Linked DNA regions of Homo sapiens: regions 1, 2, 3 and 5 are each linked to region 4. The links are contacts of gene promoters, found by promoter capture Hi-C in blood cells and fetal thymus (Javierre and others, 2016). All regions are on one chromosome and are shown on one strand. Each heading gives the region's core, a stretch centred on a gene start or on the middle of the fragment in contact. The rest is flanking DNA. Distances are from core to core; before and after follow the strand shown. Region 1 overlaps DYTN (dystrotelin). Region 2 overlaps FASTKD2 (FAST kinase domains 2). Region 3 overlaps PIKFYVE (phosphoinositide kinase, FYVE-type zinc finger containing). Region 4 holds the start of METTL21A (methyltransferase 21A, HSPA lysine). Region 5 overlaps PIKFYVE (phosphoinositide kinase, FYVE-type zinc finger containing).

What was found. The method cuts DNA at HindIII sites, captures the fragments that hold promoters and counts their contacts. A CHiCAGO score of 5 or more calls a contact.
Region 1: a contact is called between a fragment that was not itself captured here and the fragment with the promoter of METTL21A in region 4, in 2 of 17 cell types (activated CD4 T cells and naive CD4 T cells). The highest score is 6.3, in activated CD4 T cells.
Region 2: a contact is called between a fragment that was not itself captured here and the fragment with the promoter of METTL21A in region 4, in 9 of 17 cell types (activated CD4 T cells, naive B cells, fetal thymus and 6 more). The highest score is 8.1, in activated CD4 T cells.
Region 3: a fragment that was not itself captured here is called in contact with the fragment with the promoter of METTL21A in region 4 in 2 of 17 cell types (M0 macrophages and M2 macrophages); the score reaches 5.7 in M0 macrophages.
Region 5: a fragment that was not itself captured here is called in contact with the fragment with the promoter of METTL21A in region 4 in 1 of 17 cell types (total B cells); the score reaches 5.4 in total B cells.

The regions. Positions count from the first base shown.
Region 1 is chr2:206,685,716-206,689,446 of GRCh38, reverse strand. The region is part of intron 9 of DYTN (dystrotelin); the gene reads left to right. It also overlaps the pseudogene VPS26CP1. Among named protein-coding and RNA genes, the nearest start is that of DYTN, 31 kb to the left of the region's middle. The HindIII fragment of the contact is 1,117 bases long and covers 1,144-2,260 here.
Region 2 is chr2:206,773,475-206,777,011 of GRCh38, reverse strand. It overlaps FASTKD2 (FAST kinase domains 2), which reads right to left. Exons shown (of 12, transcript NM_001136193.2): 7 at 2,615-2,787. Among named protein-coding and RNA genes, the nearest start is that of MIR3130-2, 8.0 kb to the left of the region's middle. The HindIII fragment of the contact is 1,335 bases long and covers 1,214-2,548 here.
Region 3 is chr2:208,311,696-208,315,517 of GRCh38, reverse strand. It overlaps PIKFYVE (phosphoinositide kinase, FYVE-type zinc finger containing), which reads right to left. Exons shown (of 42, transcript NM_015040.4): 13 at 3,223-3,282; 14 at 1,095-1,224; 15 at 145-325. Among named protein-coding and RNA genes, the nearest start is that of PIKFYVE, 47 kb to the right of the region's middle. The HindIII fragment of the contact is 3,644 bases long and covers 1-3,428 here.
Region 4 is chr2:207,623,315-207,626,812 of GRCh38, reverse strand. It overlaps METTL21A (methyltransferase 21A, HSPA lysine), which reads left to right and starts at 1,419. Exons shown (of 4, transcript NM_001127395.5): 1 at 1,419-1,751; 2 at 2,409-2,584. The coding sequence starts at 2,438. RefSeq lists enhancers at 1-248, 249-953 and a silencer at 1,224-1,823. The HindIII fragment of the contact is 10,824 bases long and covers 1-3,498 here.
Region 5 is chr2:208,275,359-208,279,221 of GRCh38, reverse strand. It overlaps PIKFYVE (phosphoinositide kinase, FYVE-type zinc finger containing), which reads right to left. Exons shown (of 42, transcript NM_015040.4): 4 at 2,392-2,510; 5 at 1,514-1,685. Among named protein-coding and RNA genes, the nearest start is that of PIKFYVE, 11 kb to the right of the region's middle. The HindIII fragment of the contact is 177 bases long and covers 2,124-2,300 here.

The DNA.
Region 1 (3,731 bases), core at 453-2,952, 940 kb after region 4:
TGAGTTCAGAAATTCTGATTTGTGGCTCATCTAGGAGAAAAGAATGTGGAATATTACTAAATCACAATGTAATAATAGTAAAAAACACATCTTTGATATCTATTATGTTGGCACACTAGCACTGACCATCTTCTAAGAGATTAATGGTTATGGCCAAGTGATAATATTGAATTCGTTCAATGATTCAGCAAACTATCTGCATGGTAATAAGCCTTCTCCCTTTTGATGTGGTTTTATTTCCTTTACACATGATAGTTTGCACTGAGAATACTTTCATTTACAAAACCAGAACTGAAAGTTAGGTGCCAAATATCATCACTCTTATTAAATATTTCAGGAAGTTCTTGAAAACATAGTTAAAAAGAAAATTAAACTGCAGAAAAATAACAGACAGAATTACTTCTCTTTGTAGCTAATTTAATTGTGAATTACTAAGAAACCCCAAGTAACTAGCAAAAATTACTAGAATTAATAGGCTTCAAATGATGGTGGAAAAATAAAATAAACATATACAAAATTCTTCACTCTACTAGCAATAACCAGCTATAAATTTTGTAAGAATCTCATTCAAAATACATGTAAAAATTATTTTTAAAAGAAACTACAAAAAAGTTTAACAAAAAAGATACAAGACCCAAATAAAATTATAATATTTTATTGAGTACAGAAAACAAGTCCTGAACAAAAGGAAAAAATGCCAAATTTCTAAATGAGAAGACTAGCATAAGAATGTACCTGCTCCAAAAATTAATAGCTGATTTTTGTTATTTGCAGATTCAATACTTACAAATTTGCCTACTTGCAAAAATTTATTTGTAACCCTAAAATTAACACTCCTGGTGCTTTTTCAGTATTTGCAGACATAAGCAGAGTGGCAAAAAAATTTTGAGTTGCCTGATGCACGTGTTCCCAGCTGAGGTCAAACCAGATAGTGCTCTGTGTTACTGTTTCAGCCCTCATTCTATAAGCAAGTGTCCTTTTCGTGTCTATTTTGTGTCTTGTTTTTTTATATTTGTGCTTTTTGTTGGTGATTTTACTTTGGCAAATGGCCCCAAAGCACGGTACTGAATTGCTGTCTAGTGTTCCCAAGCACAGCAAGGCTACGATGTGCCTTAATGAAAAAATACACACGTTAAATAAGCTTCATTCAGGTATGATTTATATTGCTGTTGACCATGAGTTTAATGCTAATGAATCAACAATATATATTTAAAAAGCATCTTTATACAGAAACACATAAAACAAGGTTGTGCATTGATTGGTTGACAAAAATATTGTGGCCAGAGGCTTGCAGGAACCTAACCCTGTATTTTCTCTAGGAACAATGGGTTCAGTATTTCCTAATTCACTGTTCATGGTAGCCTTATAGAGCATAATCTACTGTATTTAAATTTAATGCATTTCCAGATAGAATCACAAGGTTTTCTAAATAGGATAAAATAATTTTGAAGGTATGTTGGAAGAATAGTTGTACAAGAATAGTAAAATTATGAGACTGAAGAATAGTGAGAGACATTAATATCTGAAGAACAGATGTTAATACAACAGATATTAACACTTACTATAAAACTACTATGACCAAATAATATAGTATAAAACGGGAATGAACATGTAGGTCTAAGGATGAGAATACAAAATATAATAATTGATCTAAGCATATATGGGAACCTAATATATGATAAAGGTGATATTTCAATTCATGGAAAAATAATGCATAATTGGCTATCCATCTGAAAGGAAAATTGGCCCTTATTTTGCCCCATATACTAAAACAAATTCCAAATTGATTGAAATTTAAATGTAAAAAGAATTTAAAATAAATATTAGAAAAAAGAACATCTCCTAAGGAAGAAAGAAAAACAAAAAATCATGAAGGAATAGACAGATATATATGATAGCATGTAATTTTAAACATTTTGTTATGGTAAATGATAGTATAAACAAAATTAAAAATAAGCCCTAGACTTAGAAAAATATTTTCGGTAATAAGATAAATGATGCTATTAAAAGGGTCCCTGAAAAATTGATAAGAAAAACTTGATGTGAGGTCAGAAGTGTTGGCTGCTGTGGAGAATTCAAAACAGGGACCTCCCTGGACATCAAGATGGAAGAGCAAATAGTTTCTCATGCTGGAGAAATGCTCTCCAGTGTGGTGGTCGTATCTTGTAAGGATTCAGTCCCACATCAAGTAGTGTCTTTGACAATGGAAGGAATTGCAATCCCCCAGCTCAGTGCCAAAAGTGTGGGCAGTTTTGAAGCTTTTTATAATTCCATTAAACCTATCCAGATTATCAACAGTGCCATAGAAAGGATGAAGCCAGGGAAATTTCCCTATGGCAAAACAAATTTATTTCGCATTTCTTCTGTATGTGAGGGGTAACAAAGTTCTGTATGAGACTTATTATCAGACATTCAGTATACACTACGCTGTGACATGAGGCAGTCTCTGTTGACCAAGGACTTGACAAAGGCCGGTGAATTTACCATCCACTCTGCTCCTCAGGAGGGGAAGTTGACTCCAAGTCCTGTGGACTTCACAGATTATACCTGCAACCTTACAGAATATCAAAGAGAGAGCCTTGCTCCCCAGATTTCTCATTCGAGAACACCCCAACTCAATGAATTGTGTCATCGTGCAGCTGCTTACAGGAGAGCTGGTGGTGAAAAGGCATGGGGCTGCAACTGGTGCACATGGAGACCTGTGGGTGTGCAAAAAGCTATGCCAATGATGCCACAGAGTTTCCTTATATTCAGATGCCCATGGGGACATTTGTAGGGGCCTCTCTGTCCCTATATACATGGTCTTCTCCAGGCTGTTTACCTGCCGCATGCTGAAGACCAACTTCAAAGTGGAATTTGAGGCCACCATCGACATGCGTCTTCATGCTAACCACCTGGTCACAGAGAACTTCCTATTGCAGCTCTGCAGGACTCAGCCCAGGAGGAGGGAAGCACAGAAAACAGGGGTGGCCTTGTGGATATCCTGCTGGTTATCGTTCATGGGGAACTAAAGCCAGCAGTATATACTTGTTTTTGTGATTATTCTGTATCAGAAATGAAATGGACTCCTTAAATTACAATTATTTTTCCTCCTCATTTCTTCGAGGCTTCTACTTCCAAAAGTCACCTTTAATCATATCTTTTCTTTGAAATTCAACAGAATTTCTTAATGCTGTTTGCAAGATCATTTCACAGAAAACGTTTCCTGTGACTTACCTGTTCTTGTACCAAAAAAGGCACAGAAAACCTGTTGTGACAGCCATTGGAGCTGTGCTGGAAAGTAAGATCATGGGGGCAAAAGGAAACTTCTCTCTGACTCGCTAATAATGAAAGTAGCTGAGCACTCCCCACAGCAAAGGGTCTGTGGCCAGGTGGCATTGCTTATGAAGTTTGTAGATACCCTCCAAGGAAGAATGCAAAGTGGCATCCACTGGAAATGTGTAGCTTTTTTTTTTTTTTTCCGCACTCTATTTCTGTAGTTCTTTTTATAACATTTTTCAATATAACTTCAACATTTTTAGGGAACTGAGAAAAAAGCGTCCCTTGCTCTTATAGGAGTAAGGGGATTTGGCTGGTGCTGGAGTGTTTCTGAACTCTCAAGAACTGTCATAAGAACTCATGCTGCCATATTCCGGGAATATATTTAAATGCAAAGTTATGTAAGGGGAAAAAATGAATGTTTGCTCCTTTTGTTATAGGGAGGGTTCTGAATGGCAGGAGCCCCGTGCCCA
Region 2 (3,537 bases), core at 632-3,131, 850 kb after region 4:
AAGTGAAAGACTTGTATATTGAAAACTACAAAGAAATTGATGAAAGAAATTAAAGACACAAATAAATGGAAGGACAGTCTGCATTCATGGATTGAAAGACTTAATCCTGTTAAAATGTCCATACTAACCCAGGCAGTCTACGGATTCAGTGCAATCACTATCAAAATCCCAATGGCATTTTTTTACAGAAATAGAAAAAAAACTTAAAATTCATATAGGACCACAAAGGAATCTGAACTGCCAAAGCAATTTTGAAAAAGAACAGAGCTAGAAGTATCACACTTCCTGATTTCAAAATATATTACAAAGCTACAGTAATTAAAACAGTATGGTACTGGCATAAAAAAGACAAAGCTGCCAAGACTACACATAGTAAAAGAATATGCTCTTCAACAAAAGGTGTTGGGAAAACTGGATATCCACATGCAAAAGAATGAAATTGGAACCTTATTTTATAACATACACAAAAATCAACTCAAAATGGATTAAAGATTTAAACATAAGACCTAAAACTACAAAATTCCTAAAAGAAAATGTGTAGGAGAAGCCTGATGGCATTGGCTTAGTTAGGCAATGATTTTTTTTATATGATACCAAAAGTGCAGGCAACAAAAGCAAATACAGACAAGGAGAACTATATCAAACTAAAAAGCTGCACAGCAAAGGAAACAGTCAACAAAGTGAAAAAGCAACCTACAGAATGGGAGAAAATATTTGCAAACCATACATATGATAAGCAGTTATTATCCAAAATATATAAGGAATTCCTGTAACTCATATATTTATGCTTATTGCTATAAGTTTATATAAAACTTAATGCTTTAAGTTTTCTTGTCAGGATTGCTTTTTCTGCATCCCATAATATATATATTATATATATATTTGTAGTATGTTTACACATTATAACATACTGTAACTGAATAGCAAAAATAATAATATGATTTAAAAATAGGCAAAGGACTTAAATATTTCTCCAAAGAAGACATACAAATGGCCAACAGGTATGTGAAAACATGGTCAACATCACTAATCATCAGGGAAATGCAAATCAAAACCACAATGAGATATCACTTTACATCTGTTAGGACGGCCATTATCAAAAAAACAAAACAAAACAAAATCTAACAAGTGTTGGAGAAGATGTGGAGAAATTGGAACCCTTGCACAATGTTGATAGGACTACAAAATGGTGCATGGAAAACAGTATGAAGCTTCCTTGAAAAATGTAAAAGTAGAACTACTACCTAGTAAAGAAAAGCCCAGGACCAAACTGCTTCACTGCTGAATTCTACCAAACATTTAAGGAAGAACTAATACTAATCCTACTCAAACTATTCCAAAAAGCAGAGAAGGAGGGAATACTTCCAAACTCATTCTACAAGTCCAGTATTACCCTGATACCAAAATCAGACAAAGACACATCAAAAAAAACAAAAAACAAACAAAAAAACTACAGCACAGTATCTCTGATGAAGATTGATGCAAAAATCCTCAAAAAAAATACTAGCAAACCAAATTCAACAATACATTAGAAAGATTATTCATTATGACCAAGCAGGATTTATCCCTGGGATGCCAGGATGGTTCAACATATGCAAATCAATCAATATGATACATCATATCAACAGAATAAAGGATAAAAACCATATGATCATTTCAACTGATGCTAAAAAAAAAAAAGGCATTTGGTAAAAGTAGAACCCTTAGTAAAAGCAGAATCCCTGTATGATCCAGGGATCTCACTTGTGGATATATTTCAATTCATAAGAATTGAAATGAGAATCTCAAAGAGACATCTGCACTCCCATGTTAAGTGCAGCATTGTTTGCAATAGCCAAGATAGGGAAACAACCTAAACATCCATCAGCAGATGAATGGATAAAGAAAATGTGATATATACATATAATGGAATATTATTCAGCCTTAGAAGGAAATCTCATCACATGCTACAATGTGGATCAACTTGAAGGGCATTATGCTAACTGAAATAAGCTAGTCATAGAAGGACAAATACCGCATGACTCCACTTATATAAAGTATCTAAAAAGGTCAGTCATAGAAACAGAGATTACAATGTTGATTGTCAGGGGTGAGGAAAGGGGGAAATAGGGGAGTTGCTATTCAACAGGTATAAAGTTTCAGTTATGCAAGATGATTAAGTCCTAGAGATCCACTGTACAATATTGTTAACTATATCATTAATAATAAAGTCAGCAATATTGTACTGCACACTTTAAAATTTACTAAATGTTCTTACCATAATAAAAAAAGTCAAATTTTTTAAAAGACAGATTTCTCCATTTTTTAATACAGTTAAAATAAACTATGAACTTAGGAGCTACGAGGATAAGCTGGGAGGGTTTGAAATCAAACTCCTATAATGAATTAACTAATACATTATAAAGAACAAAGAAACAAACAAGACAAAGGGCAGCAAATATAAAACAAAATTTTGTTTAACCTTATAAATGAGTAAGGAACACTATGTTTTATTTATTGGCATGGATGATGACTATGGGTGTGTTCACTTGTAATAATTCATTAAGCTTATGATTTATAACCTTTTTTGTAAGTTATATGGCAATAAAAAAGGTAAAAAAAAACAAGTACATACTCTTTGTTCTGGCATTTGTAGACATGATTGAGAGAAGAGTAAGTATGAAGAATAGATAGAATGTTTTTCATGTTTAGGGATTCAGGATCCTCTACTATTCTCTTCATAAACAGGTCCATTAAACCAACAGGTCGAAAGCCAAGGTTTTCAAATAAAATGAGGATAAAAAGAACCTTAAAAAGAGAAAATTGAGGGAAAACTCTATAATAATTACAGTATGCTAATAGTAATTTTTTAGATCTCAAAAAATCTAAGCAGCAATTCAACTGTCCTGATCAACAGAATATATCCTGAAACAGAATATTTCCATGAAAAGGAACAATCATCTTTCTCTCACAAAATCTGTTCTATTAATTCTTGAATTGGGTATCAAGTTAATAAGCAATCTTTTTTAAGCTGAGAACCAGGGCATACAATGATTTCTACGTTTCCATCTGATTTAAAAATAAATCTCTTCCTACATGCTTTTCATACAACATATCTGAAAATTACTTTTAAATATGCCTTTTCTGAAGGTTTTCAAAATGACCAACTCAATCTTGAACTTCTCGCATTCCCAAACTTAAATACTTCCTAGATTCTAACATGTAAGACATAACCCCAAAATTTCTATATTTAATATTCATACCTATAAGTGAAAATGGAACTGAAACATTATGATTAAAATAAACTTTCAAGTTCACCTCCAATTTCCTTCTCAATCTTTCTTACTTAGGATTATTACTTCTCTTTCTATAACCAATTTCCACAGTAAACTCAATATTTACCTTACTCTCCAAAATAAACTGAACCTAGAGATCTAACAGTTATCACCTATTTCATTGCAAAAAGAAGTTTTTACCAGGTGCTTCATTAAATGTTTATATTCTTAACACAGCTCCTGATTTTAAAGGCTTTTACTCTGGATAAAACAATGGACATGA
Region 3 (3,822 bases), core at 357-2,856, 690 kb before region 4:
TAACAAAGCAGACAGCAAAACCTCCTACTCCTCACCTAGCACCCCTCAGGGTAATGACTCTTTTCAGATTACCATTAAGACAAAAATTACAATCAGTCCTGCCTCATCAGTTCCTAGCATTAGTAAAACATTAGCAGAGCTCACTTTTTTGATGTGGACAAACTGACGGATATCCATGTCATCATCCTGGTTCTTGACATCAGGTCGGACTGTCTGAACAACCTGGCAGACCAATGACACGATGATGTCCCTCCAAGATGATGACAGTGAGTCACTATGGAGCAACTGCTGGAGTAGTGCCATCATGTGGTTATGATTAGCTGAACTACAAAAATATTATAAGAAAGAAGTTTGCATAGTTAATACTGCCAGAGACAATAATTCTGATGATAAAACAAACAGCCTACAAAGAAATAAACATTTCAATTACGGCTCACAGATAAGATTTTCTAGGTCAATATCATTCTTTCATTATATCTGTACCTTAAGGATTTTGCATATAAATGAAATCTGAATATCTTCCACTAAGAAGTCCCCTGCAATTGACTGAAATGAAATTTTAACACGTAAAATGGGGACAGACAAGCACAGTTTGGGGCTTTTGTTTTTGTTTTTTTTCTCTGAGACGAAGTCTTGCTCTGTTGCCTAGGTTGGAGTGCAGTGGCGCGATCTCAGCTCACTGCAACCTCCGCCTCTTGAGTTCAAGCAATCCTCCTGTCTCAGCCTCTGAGTAGTTGGGATTACAGGCCAGCGCCACCACGCCTGGCTAATTTTTGTATTATTAGTAGAGACGGGGTTTTACCATGTTGGCCAGGCTGGTCTCAACCTTCTGAGCTTGTGATCCTCCCGCCTCAGCCTCCCAAAGTGCTGGGATTACAGGCGTGAGCCACTGCACCCAGCCGGGGCTCTTGGTTTTATAAGAAATTTAATCACAAGTCAAAATAGACTGTATTTCCTAAGTAACCTTAGTATTTTTTTACTTTCTAAGGAAAAAGAAAAAGACCTCCCTTTTTAAGAGGAATGATGCATATGCTTATCAAGTCACTGAAGATAATAAAAGTGAAAAATTAAAATTAAAAATTTCATTGCCTTACAGCAACCTCTCCATGGCTTGTTTCTCCCCATTCTCCTCCCTCAGGAGCTCCAGGTTGTTATGATGCCAGCCCAAAGGTGTGAAAGGCAGCTCTTTGGATTTTTCCTCTACTCGGCGATTAAATAAGGATTCTAAGTACAATATAAAATAAGAAGTTATTACTTCATTGTCCTGTTTTATACCATCTACTCATATATTTAGAAATTGCCCTTTGTCTTTATAAATGTTTTAAGTTAGCCAACATAAATTATTGGTGTAAAAAGGCAAGAACATGTAATAAACATATAAATAAAATGCATAAGAAAATACTTACAAATACATAAAATACACTAAAAATACAGAAATGCAAGAATTAAGAAGAGCAGTAATTGGCAACAGCCAAAATCAGAAACAGAACTGTGAAAATCAAATGTACGTAACTAAGACTCTCAAGCCAATAATTATAAGCACAGCTTCTGAAAAGCAAATAAAATGAAACTTTTGCTTCTCCTTTTAATTTTTAAAAACGAGGGTGTTAATTTCCCCTTTAAAATCACAAACTGGGCCGCGCGTGGTAGCTCACGCCTGTAATTCCAACACTTTGGGAGGCCGAGGTGGGCAGATCACCTGAGGTCAGGAGTTCGAGACCAGCCTGGCCAACATGGCGAAACTCCATCTCTGCTAAAAACACAAAAATTAGCTGGGCGTGTTGGCACACGCCTGTAATCCCAGCTACAAGGGAGGCTGAGGCAGGAGAATCACTTGAACCTAGGAGGCAGAGATTGCAGTGAGCCAAGATCGCACCACTGCACTCCAACCTGAGTGACAGAGCGAGACTCCATCTCAAAAAAAAAAAAAAAAAAATCACAAACTGAAAACTGCATTCAACAGAAATCTGAATGCTGGCAAAAGAACACATGATAGCGAGAGTGATGAATTTTCAAGAAAGAAGCTCAGCTCAGATATCACAAAACAACAGATGACAGTGTAGAAAGTCTATTCAGACAATCCTCAATAGTGTTTCTCTTTCAATATTGGCACAGGGGTTTTTTAACAAAATTTTAGCAAGACAGACTCAAAAACATAAATATTAAAACATAATAAATAGCATTTATGTAGAATTTGTGTAAAATCTTTAAATTTTTTAAAGGATGAATGAAAATAGATAAGACAAAAAATAAATAATAAATGCTTAACAAAAAAATATGTTCACTAAATAACTGTTGAATAATCTGACCAAATAAGTGGAAAGAAAAGAAGTGGGAAATGCTTACAAAAATTCTCTAACCTGTCCCCTCTTAAAAGCAAAACAAACAAACAAAAAAACTTCCACCAAACAGCCCAGCAGATTACACAGTAAAGTATATGTCCATGACATGTGAAGTACAAGAATTGCACATTTCAATTACATAAAGGGCCACTCTGTAAACTTCTAGCCGAACCAGATGCTTGGAGATGAATTTAGAAGCACTGCCAAGCTATCAGATAAGCTGCAGTGGCTCCTTGTACCCGCTTGCCTTCTCTCTTTGATCTGAAACCGTGGGAGCCAAGAAGGAAGAGAAATTTTCTCCCATTATCTGAGGCCTAACCAGTGGAGTACTATGGACTAAGAATGTCTTTACTCTAGGAAGCTAAGCTAAGCTAAGTAGGGAAGGAATAGGAGAAGGCTAATCTCCTTTTGTGTCCAAAAGAAATTTATCATCAGAGTTAGTTCTTTAACCTCTACTGCCTGCTTCTCTTCCTCACTCCACAGGGCAAGCAGCATCCTTAACTGGAGATCTGCCTGTGGGCTTTTTGACAAATTTGACAATCCTTGATGATATTTATATCAATACTTAATATTATATTCACAATACAGTTAAGTGTAAACTATGTCTTTAAAAGAATTAAGTTCAAATTCTACTTAAAAGTTTTTAAACAATTACTTTTCACATCAGAGACCTCCTTCTCGCAAACCAAGTCCAAGTTTACATTCTTGGTTCTCAACATTCTCTAAATCATTATATATATTAAAAACTGTGTTCCCATGATACCACCATAATCAAATATATTTTCAGCACCTTCTCTGTGCTAATCAATGTGCTAAGCCCTAAGTATATCCTCATGAAAAAAAGAGACACCATTCCACATACAGCTTTTTATAAAATTACCTTTGATGAAAGCGTCACTTATTGAGAGCTGTTGTCCTCCAGTGTCAGAAATCAAATACTCTGCATACCAGGGAGACAACAGAGAGGAGGAACAAAAGTAGAGACATATGACTATAACATGTCAGCATAATTATATAGAGAATACGCCCACACACAAAATATTACTCATACTAAACCCATCACTGCCCGGCAAATTCAAGAAAGCTTTGGGTAAAAATGCCTCTTTATACTTGTTCTATGCACTTCATACTAAACTTAAGCAGACTTGCATTAATAACACAATAGAGCCGTGAAAACAATTCTCCTTAATTCAAATGTCAGATAGAGAAATGTTTTTCTCTTACCAAAACCAACCGGTTTATGAAAATTAAATCTTCAGATACTTGTACGACCATCCTAAAAGATTACAGTTCTTTTCACATGTAACTTGATGATTTAACAAATAATCACTTTGCCTATGCACAAAGCAGTTCATACAGAACCCACCTGATAAAACAATATAAACTTTTTTCAAATTTCAGAATATAAGCTATAAAACAAATTAATACAGAAGTGACATTGGCAGGAATAAAGATAAAACTCATCAGTATTTGTATTAGT
Region 4 (3,498 bases), core at 170-2,669:
AGTTCAAGGCCAGCCTGGCCAACATGGTGAAGCCCCGTCTCTACTAAAAACACAAAAAAAGCCGGGTGTGGCGGCGGGCGCCTGTAATTCCAGCTACTTTGGAGGCTGAGGCAGGAGAACTGCTTGAACCCGGGAGGTGGAGGCTGCAGTGAGCCGAGATCGCGCCACTGCACTCCAGCCTGGCGACAGAGCAAGACTCCGTCTCAAACAAACAAACAAAATCCCACAAAAATTAGCTGGCGTGCTGGCGCAGGCCTGTAATCCTAGCTACACGGGAGAATGAGGCAGGAGAATCGCTTGAACCCGGAAGGCGGAGACTGCAGTGAGCCGAGTTCGCGCCCTTGCACTCCAGCCTGGGCGACAGAGAGAGACTCCGTCTCAAAACAAAAACAAAAACAAAAACAAAAGCAAAAAACCAAACAAAAAAATCAGCGCTCGGGCCCCCTCCCATGGCCAGCTCTTGGGGCGGGGGACTGGTAAGGGAGGTTTACCCCAGCTGGTTCTAACGTGCAGCCGCGCTGAGAGCGCAGCGGGCGGTGTGGGGCGAGGGGCCCCAGGAGGAAAAAGAAGCCTGCCCCGGGAGGATGCCGGTCCCCGCACGGTCCCACTCAATGGACCCACTCCAGCCGCGCGCTCTGCCAGGGCCTGCGGCCAGGGTACCAGGCCCTCGGCACCTTCCACGTCCAGCGTGGGTCCTCACGGGCAGGTGCGTCTTGGCATCGGGAGGAGGGAGACTGGGGCACTGGAGTCTGCAGCGCCGCCTGGGGCCGGGGCTGGAGCCGAGCGCACGCCCAGAGCTCCGCGCTTCCGACTGCAGCCAGAGCCCGCCGACCCCCGCCCCACTTTAAAAACTTGGACTCGGGCGCCACGTGTTCACTTCCCCCACTGTGCTTTAGTTGAAAAGGGTTTTGTGACTTTTCCACTCGATTGCCGCCAAGCGGGCTATTACGCCGCTTCTGACCCCACCGTGGAGACGCGGGGACTAGAGTGACCATGCCTTCTTCGGAGCGAGCTGTCTCCATCATCCGCTAACGCGCCACCTTTAAAAAACAGGCACAACGCGCAAGCGACAAAGTCAGAGGCAGAGAGCGGCGGAGCACATGATAGAAAAGGTCGAGAGGCACATTCAGCGCCAGGTGGGTGGCTTTTCTCTCCCGCTAGGAGAGCCCAGGGCACCCCATGCTCTCCCTGTGCACCCGCGGCAGTTCGGCACCCCGATCTCACTCTTGCTCCCGCCCCCACAGCGCCTCCCTCGGCGGCGGGGGAAACGGATTAAGTCGTCCGTGTACCCTGGGGACGCACGAGGGAAAGCCCCGGTCCCCCCTCCCGCAACGTCACTCCTCCACCGCGCCACGGCCCGGCCCCGCCCTCGCCGTGAGCTCCGGGGGCACCTGCCGGAGGCTGGGTGCCGGGAGACCGGAAATGCGTGGCTCCGGGCCGGGGCCGCCCGCCCCCGCGTCGCGGGCTCTTTAAGGCCGGCGGTTTTCGCAGCCAGCCCGGGGCGGGGAAAGCGGAGCGCGCGCTCCACGCGGGACCGCCTCCCGGGCCGTAAGTACCGGCGTGGCGGCGCCTCAGCCCGGCCTGGGCGAGCCCTGGGTGCTCCGCCGGGCAGCTCACGGCGCCCCGTATGGCCTGGGGATCCTAAGAGGCCCTGTGACCCCCCTCGCCTGGTCTCCCTCTCACCCCTGGAGGGTTGCCGCAGCTCCGGGGCCCCCGGGCAGGAAGGGCGCACTGGTCGTCCCGGGAGAGGGGTGAGTGGGGGGCAGCTATAGGGGGAGTTCGGGGAGGCCTCCGAGTCCCCGCTGTCCCCGCGAGCCGCTTGGAGGCCCCCAGTGTCGCTCACTTCCAGGGTCGGGGAGACGGAACTGCGGCGACCATGTATTTCTGGTTTATCAAACCGCTAACACCCAGTCTAAGGGCAGGTTCTGTCCCATTGTTATCACTATCGAAGCAGCCGATGGAGGAGGGGAGGTGGGTAGCGAAACCGTAGCGAAAGAACCCGGGCCGCCCGGCTGGCTGCAGCTGCAGTCCGGGCGCCCGGGTCTGGGTTGGAAGCGCTGCTTTCCGCGCTGCTCTGGGGCCCTGGGCGATCACCGCCGCTTCCGCCGCTTGTGTAGTTCTGAATTCACGGAGTGGTAGCAGTGCAGTGTATAGGGTATTCTGCGGAAGTTGGAATGTTCTGGGCTTTTTTTTTCTTCTTCCCCAAACACATCCGTTGACACAAATTCCGAGCCAAATCTCACTCAGATTCGGAAGAGCCATGCAAAAGAAATTGGACAAAGGCTTCCTCCACCTGTTTCTTTTTTTCTTTTGAACTTGTAAACGACCTTAAAAGCATTTGGAGTTAGTTAAGAACAGATAATGTATCTTTTGGCCAGAGCGTCACCCAGGATTCTTTTGCACGGCAGGTCTGAGCAGAGGGCGGGGTGCAGGCGGAATGGCCCTCGTGCCCTATGAGGAGACCACGGAATTTGGGTTGCAGAAATTCCACAAGCCTCTTGCAACTTTTTCCTTTGCAAACCACACGATCCAGATCCGGCAGGACTGGAGACACCTGGGAGTCGCAGCGGTGGTTTGGGATGCGGTAAGTAAGCCCTGGGGGACCTCTGAAAACGTTCACACTTGCAAGACTGGCTTTTATTTTTTATTTTTTTTAGAACAGCTTTATTGAGATATAATTCACATAGCATACACTTTACCTATTTAAAGTGCACAATTCAGTGCGGTTTTAAAAATACAGTATATTCACAGAGTAGTGCAACTATTACCGCTTCAATTTTAAAAGTTTTACTATCACTGCCACTCTCAAACCCGTATCCCTTAGTCACTCCTCTTGTCCCTCCACATAGATTACATTTTAAAGGTGTAAATGAAAGCTGAGGAAAGTTAATGACTTGTCGGAGAGGATAGGAAGGAAAGCCCCCAACTGCTTTGGACACGAGTTAGTCTTTTTTTCTTTTGAGACATAGTCTCGTTCTGTTGCCCAGGCTGGAGTGCAGTGGTGCGATCCTGGCTCAATGCAGCCTCCGCTTCCTGGGTTCAAGTGATTCTCCCACCTCAGCCTCTGGAGTAACTGGGGCTACAGGTGCACGCCACCACACCTGGTTAATTTTTGTATTTTTTGGTAGAGATGGGGTTTCGACATGTTGGCCAGGCTGATCTGGAACTCCTGACCTCAAGTGATCCACCTGCCTCAGCCTCCCAAAGTGCTGGGATTACAGGCGTGAGCCACAGCGCCCAGCCGAGTTAGTCTCTTTATTTCACAGAGTATTGTAAAGTGGCAGAGCCCAAAATGGAGATTATGTGTTTTCTTTAAGTTTTCCATAGTTGTAATTGTTAAAAAATTGTAACTGCTTTTTAACTTCTTCCTCTCCCTGCCCTGTTCTGACTTGAGCCCTCAGCATCTAGCCCCACACCTAGGACTCAGTGGGAACTCAATTAATGTTGAATGCATGATTGGCATAAATACAGTTTGACAGTTTTAACATTGTTAGGGAT
Region 5 (3,863 bases), core at 963-3,462, 650 kb before region 4:
TGAACAGACACTTCTCAAAAAAAGACCTACAAGTGGCCAACAAACATGAAAAAATGTTCCACATCAATGATCATTAGTGAAATGCAAATCAAAACCACAATAAGATACCATCTCACACCAATCAGAATGGCTGTTATTAAAAAGCCAAAAAACGAATGCTGGTAAAGCTGCAGAGAAAAGAGAATGCTTATACACTGCTGATGGGAATGTAAATTAGTTCAGCCACTGTGGAAGACGGTTTGAAGATTTCTCAAAGAGCTTAAAACAGAACTGCTACCATTTGATTCAGGAATCCCACTACTGGGTATATATCCAAAGGAAAATAAATCATTCTATCAAAAGGCACATGTACTCGTATGTTCATTGTAACACTTTTTATAATAGCAAATACAGAATCAACCTGGGTGCCACCAATGGTGAAATGGATAAAGAAAATGTGGTACATATACACCATGGAATACTATGCAGCCATAAAAAAAGAACAAAATTATGTCCTTTGCAGCAATATGGATGCAGCTGGAGGCCATTATCCTAAGTAAATTAACACAGAACAGAAAACCAAATGCCGCAAGCTCTCACTTACAAGTGGGAGCTAAACACTGAGTACATGAGGACATAAAGATGGCAACAATAGACAAGGGGACTACTAGAGCAGGGAGGGAGGAAGAGGAGCAAGGTTTGAAAAACTAACTACTGGATACCATACTCACTACCTGGGTGACAGGATCAGTCATATGCAAAATCTCAGCATCACTAAATATACCCCTGTAACAAACATGAATCTAAAATAAAAGTTGAAATTATTACCAAAAAAAAAAAGAAATACAAGTAATTTTCAAACAAAAAAGCTGTTGTAAAAGCTAATGGGGTTCTGGGTGACAGATAATGGGATTCTGAACTCTGTAGTAGTTTAGGTGGAAAAAAAAATGAGCAGACAGAAAGATCTTCACAATAACAAAAATAACATGAGAGAGATGTTAGGAGTTTTGTTTTTCAGGTAATTTCTGACTATCTTCTACTCCCAAATCACTGTATAAATCAACATACCATTGTTCAGTTTTTTCTGTTTCAAGAAATAACTTAAATTTTCTGTACTGCTGAAATTTGACTATGTTCCTTATGGAGGAATCTGAGTAAGACACAATTCACTGCCAAAGCACAGTGTCATGTAATTACGTCAAGGAAGATCTGTCCTTTTAAAATGAAAACTCTCATAGTGATTTAAATTAGTAATCTACTCTAACGATCTTGTCTAATAAATTTTAATGTTCCTATAGTTTTTTGCTAGCATCTACAATAAATACACTTTTACTCTAGTTATTTATGATAAGTCCCATCTACTGTATTATTCAATAGGAAAGTTCTTAAAAGCAAAGCTGTCTCCCTCACCTTTGTGTCCCCATGTCTTACACATAAAACCCAAAATGAAAATTGGCTTAACACTATCCTGTATTATAAGTGTCTTATAGTTATGACCTTTAAAAATTGTAAACTGGCAATAAAATGCATTTACCTGTATAGCCCATAAATTTTCCAGGGATTTCTTGATTACAGCAACGACTGCAGAAAATCTGCCCACATAGTCGGCAATGGTGTCTGCGCCTAAAGGTTGTAAATTTCTCACTACAGTCATAGCACTCTTTACATTGGCTATCTGGCATCCAGTATTGTTTCAGGTCACTATCCTATAACAATAAAAATGTGTGAAGGCTTCTTGAAAATACTGATTATTAATATGCAATGGCAAATGAAATCCTCAAAGGTTTCTTTTGCAGAAAACAAACTAATTCAAAAATTCATATGGGAATACGAAAGGTCAAAATAACCAAGACAATCTTGAAGAAGAACAAATTGAAGGACTTAATATTACCAGCCATCAAGACTTATTCTTAATGCTACAATAATTTTAGACAGGGTACTGGTACAAGGATAGAAAAAAATAAAGGTATGGAACAGAAAAAGAGAGCCCTGACACACCCTCACACATATATGGACTTACGGTGGAATTTATAATGCAATCAGTGAAAGATGGTCTTTTCAAAAACAATGGTACTATATCCAACTGGACATCCATGAGGAAAAATGGAAGCCTGACCCCTATACTTGACAGAAATAATAAAGCTTCTTGAAGAAACCATAGGAGAATATCTACTGCCCTGAACTAGATAAACACTTCTTAAACAGAACGCGAAAAGCACTAAGGATAACGGGAAAAAAACTGATAAATTAGACTACAATAAAATTAAGAACTTATGTATAAAAATAGGGTGCTCACAGCTGGAGGAAGCGCTAATTAAGCTTTCTTTCAGTGGCATTAAGCCATTTTCATTAGGTATGGCATGATCCCCATAAGCGCTTAATAAGTAATCTTCCAAAGCCTCTAGACAGTACCTGGCTTTTCCCCTCCATGATTTCCTTGAGGCGTTTTAATACTGTGCTGAGGCTTCGAAGCTGAACAGCTGTACGAGGGTCATGACCTCCAAAGGTAGGTTCTGCTTTCCTTCTTGTGTCTGAGTTGGATTAAAAAAAAAGCAACCTTGTTAACAGTCCCTAGTATCTATATACAACAAGGTATATATGTGATGGAAACTGCCTCTTATTGTTGGCATATAATTATGTTCTCCCACCCGGTTATATGAATTGAGAGTTAAAACAAGTCTTTATAAGGGTAAGAGGCTACTGAAAGTATTTCTTCTCATGTAAAATGCTGTTTTACAAGCGAGTCAAGGCTGCCTAAGACAAGCATTGTCTGAGACCATTGATGGTTTTCAGGCCTGGAATGGGAACATCACTTAAATGGTCCAAAATTCATTAATGACTCCTTAAGCCCTTTGGTCCAACCTATAATAAATGCATGCTAGAAATTTAGCAGAAGAAAAAGCAATCAAGGAGGGTTAACTTAGCTTGGTCTCTAAAGTCAAACAGGTAAGCAATAGGATCAAACAGTTCAGTTCTGTCTATATCTGTAGACCATATATCCAAAGTCTCATACAGAAGATGATCAGAAAGAAGTTTAATAGCCCAGCCTTCAAAGATTCTGACAGACTTCACAACATCCAGGATGGCAAATTTTGCCATGGTAAAACCTGACCTATGTCCAAGCAAATTAAAACTGCCAGAAAATTGCTAAAACTCCAATCCTATCCTTCCCTGTCACTTCCCCAACCCCACAGCTCCAAATAGGAAAGGATCATTTATACCTGACATAGCAATACTGAAGCCAAATCTATCACTAATAAGCCCAAATTCCAGCCTCATGGCCAAAATAGGGTATGCCCACCAAAGTTGTCACTTATTATTTCCTTAATTTAGACCAAAATTACAACTGAAGTTTCTGCCTATTTCTGGCAGTTACAAAACCTAAGCATGAAGCAAAGACGTTTTGACAAAAAGGATGAACATCCTATTAGCTTAAACCCATCAAACTGATAACCTATGGCAAAGTAAACTGGAAAATACCCCACTCTGAATCTTCCTCAAACTCACCATTTGCTAGATAGGTGCTGTTTTGGCTGGGAGGGAAAAAAAAGAATTACAAAGAAATGAGAGGTTGGGATCTAAAGTTTACAAAGAATTTCCCAAGATAATGTAATCACTGAAGTAACTACCAAAATTGTACCTATTTTAGAAAACTTTGGCAACTTTTATCTTTCTATAAAGTTATATCTTAATTTTAGCACATACCTCAGATGTGTTGCTACTGTATTAGAATAACTAAACTTGAGTCTCAAAACAAAAAACAACTCCCCATGATCTACAAATTGAAAAAGAAGACAGATGAAGCTACTGGAAACATAATGGCTGTGCTTCCGTGCAGCAGGCAAAAACTTGTGAAGTCCCTGGCATTTAGCCAATTAGGAATA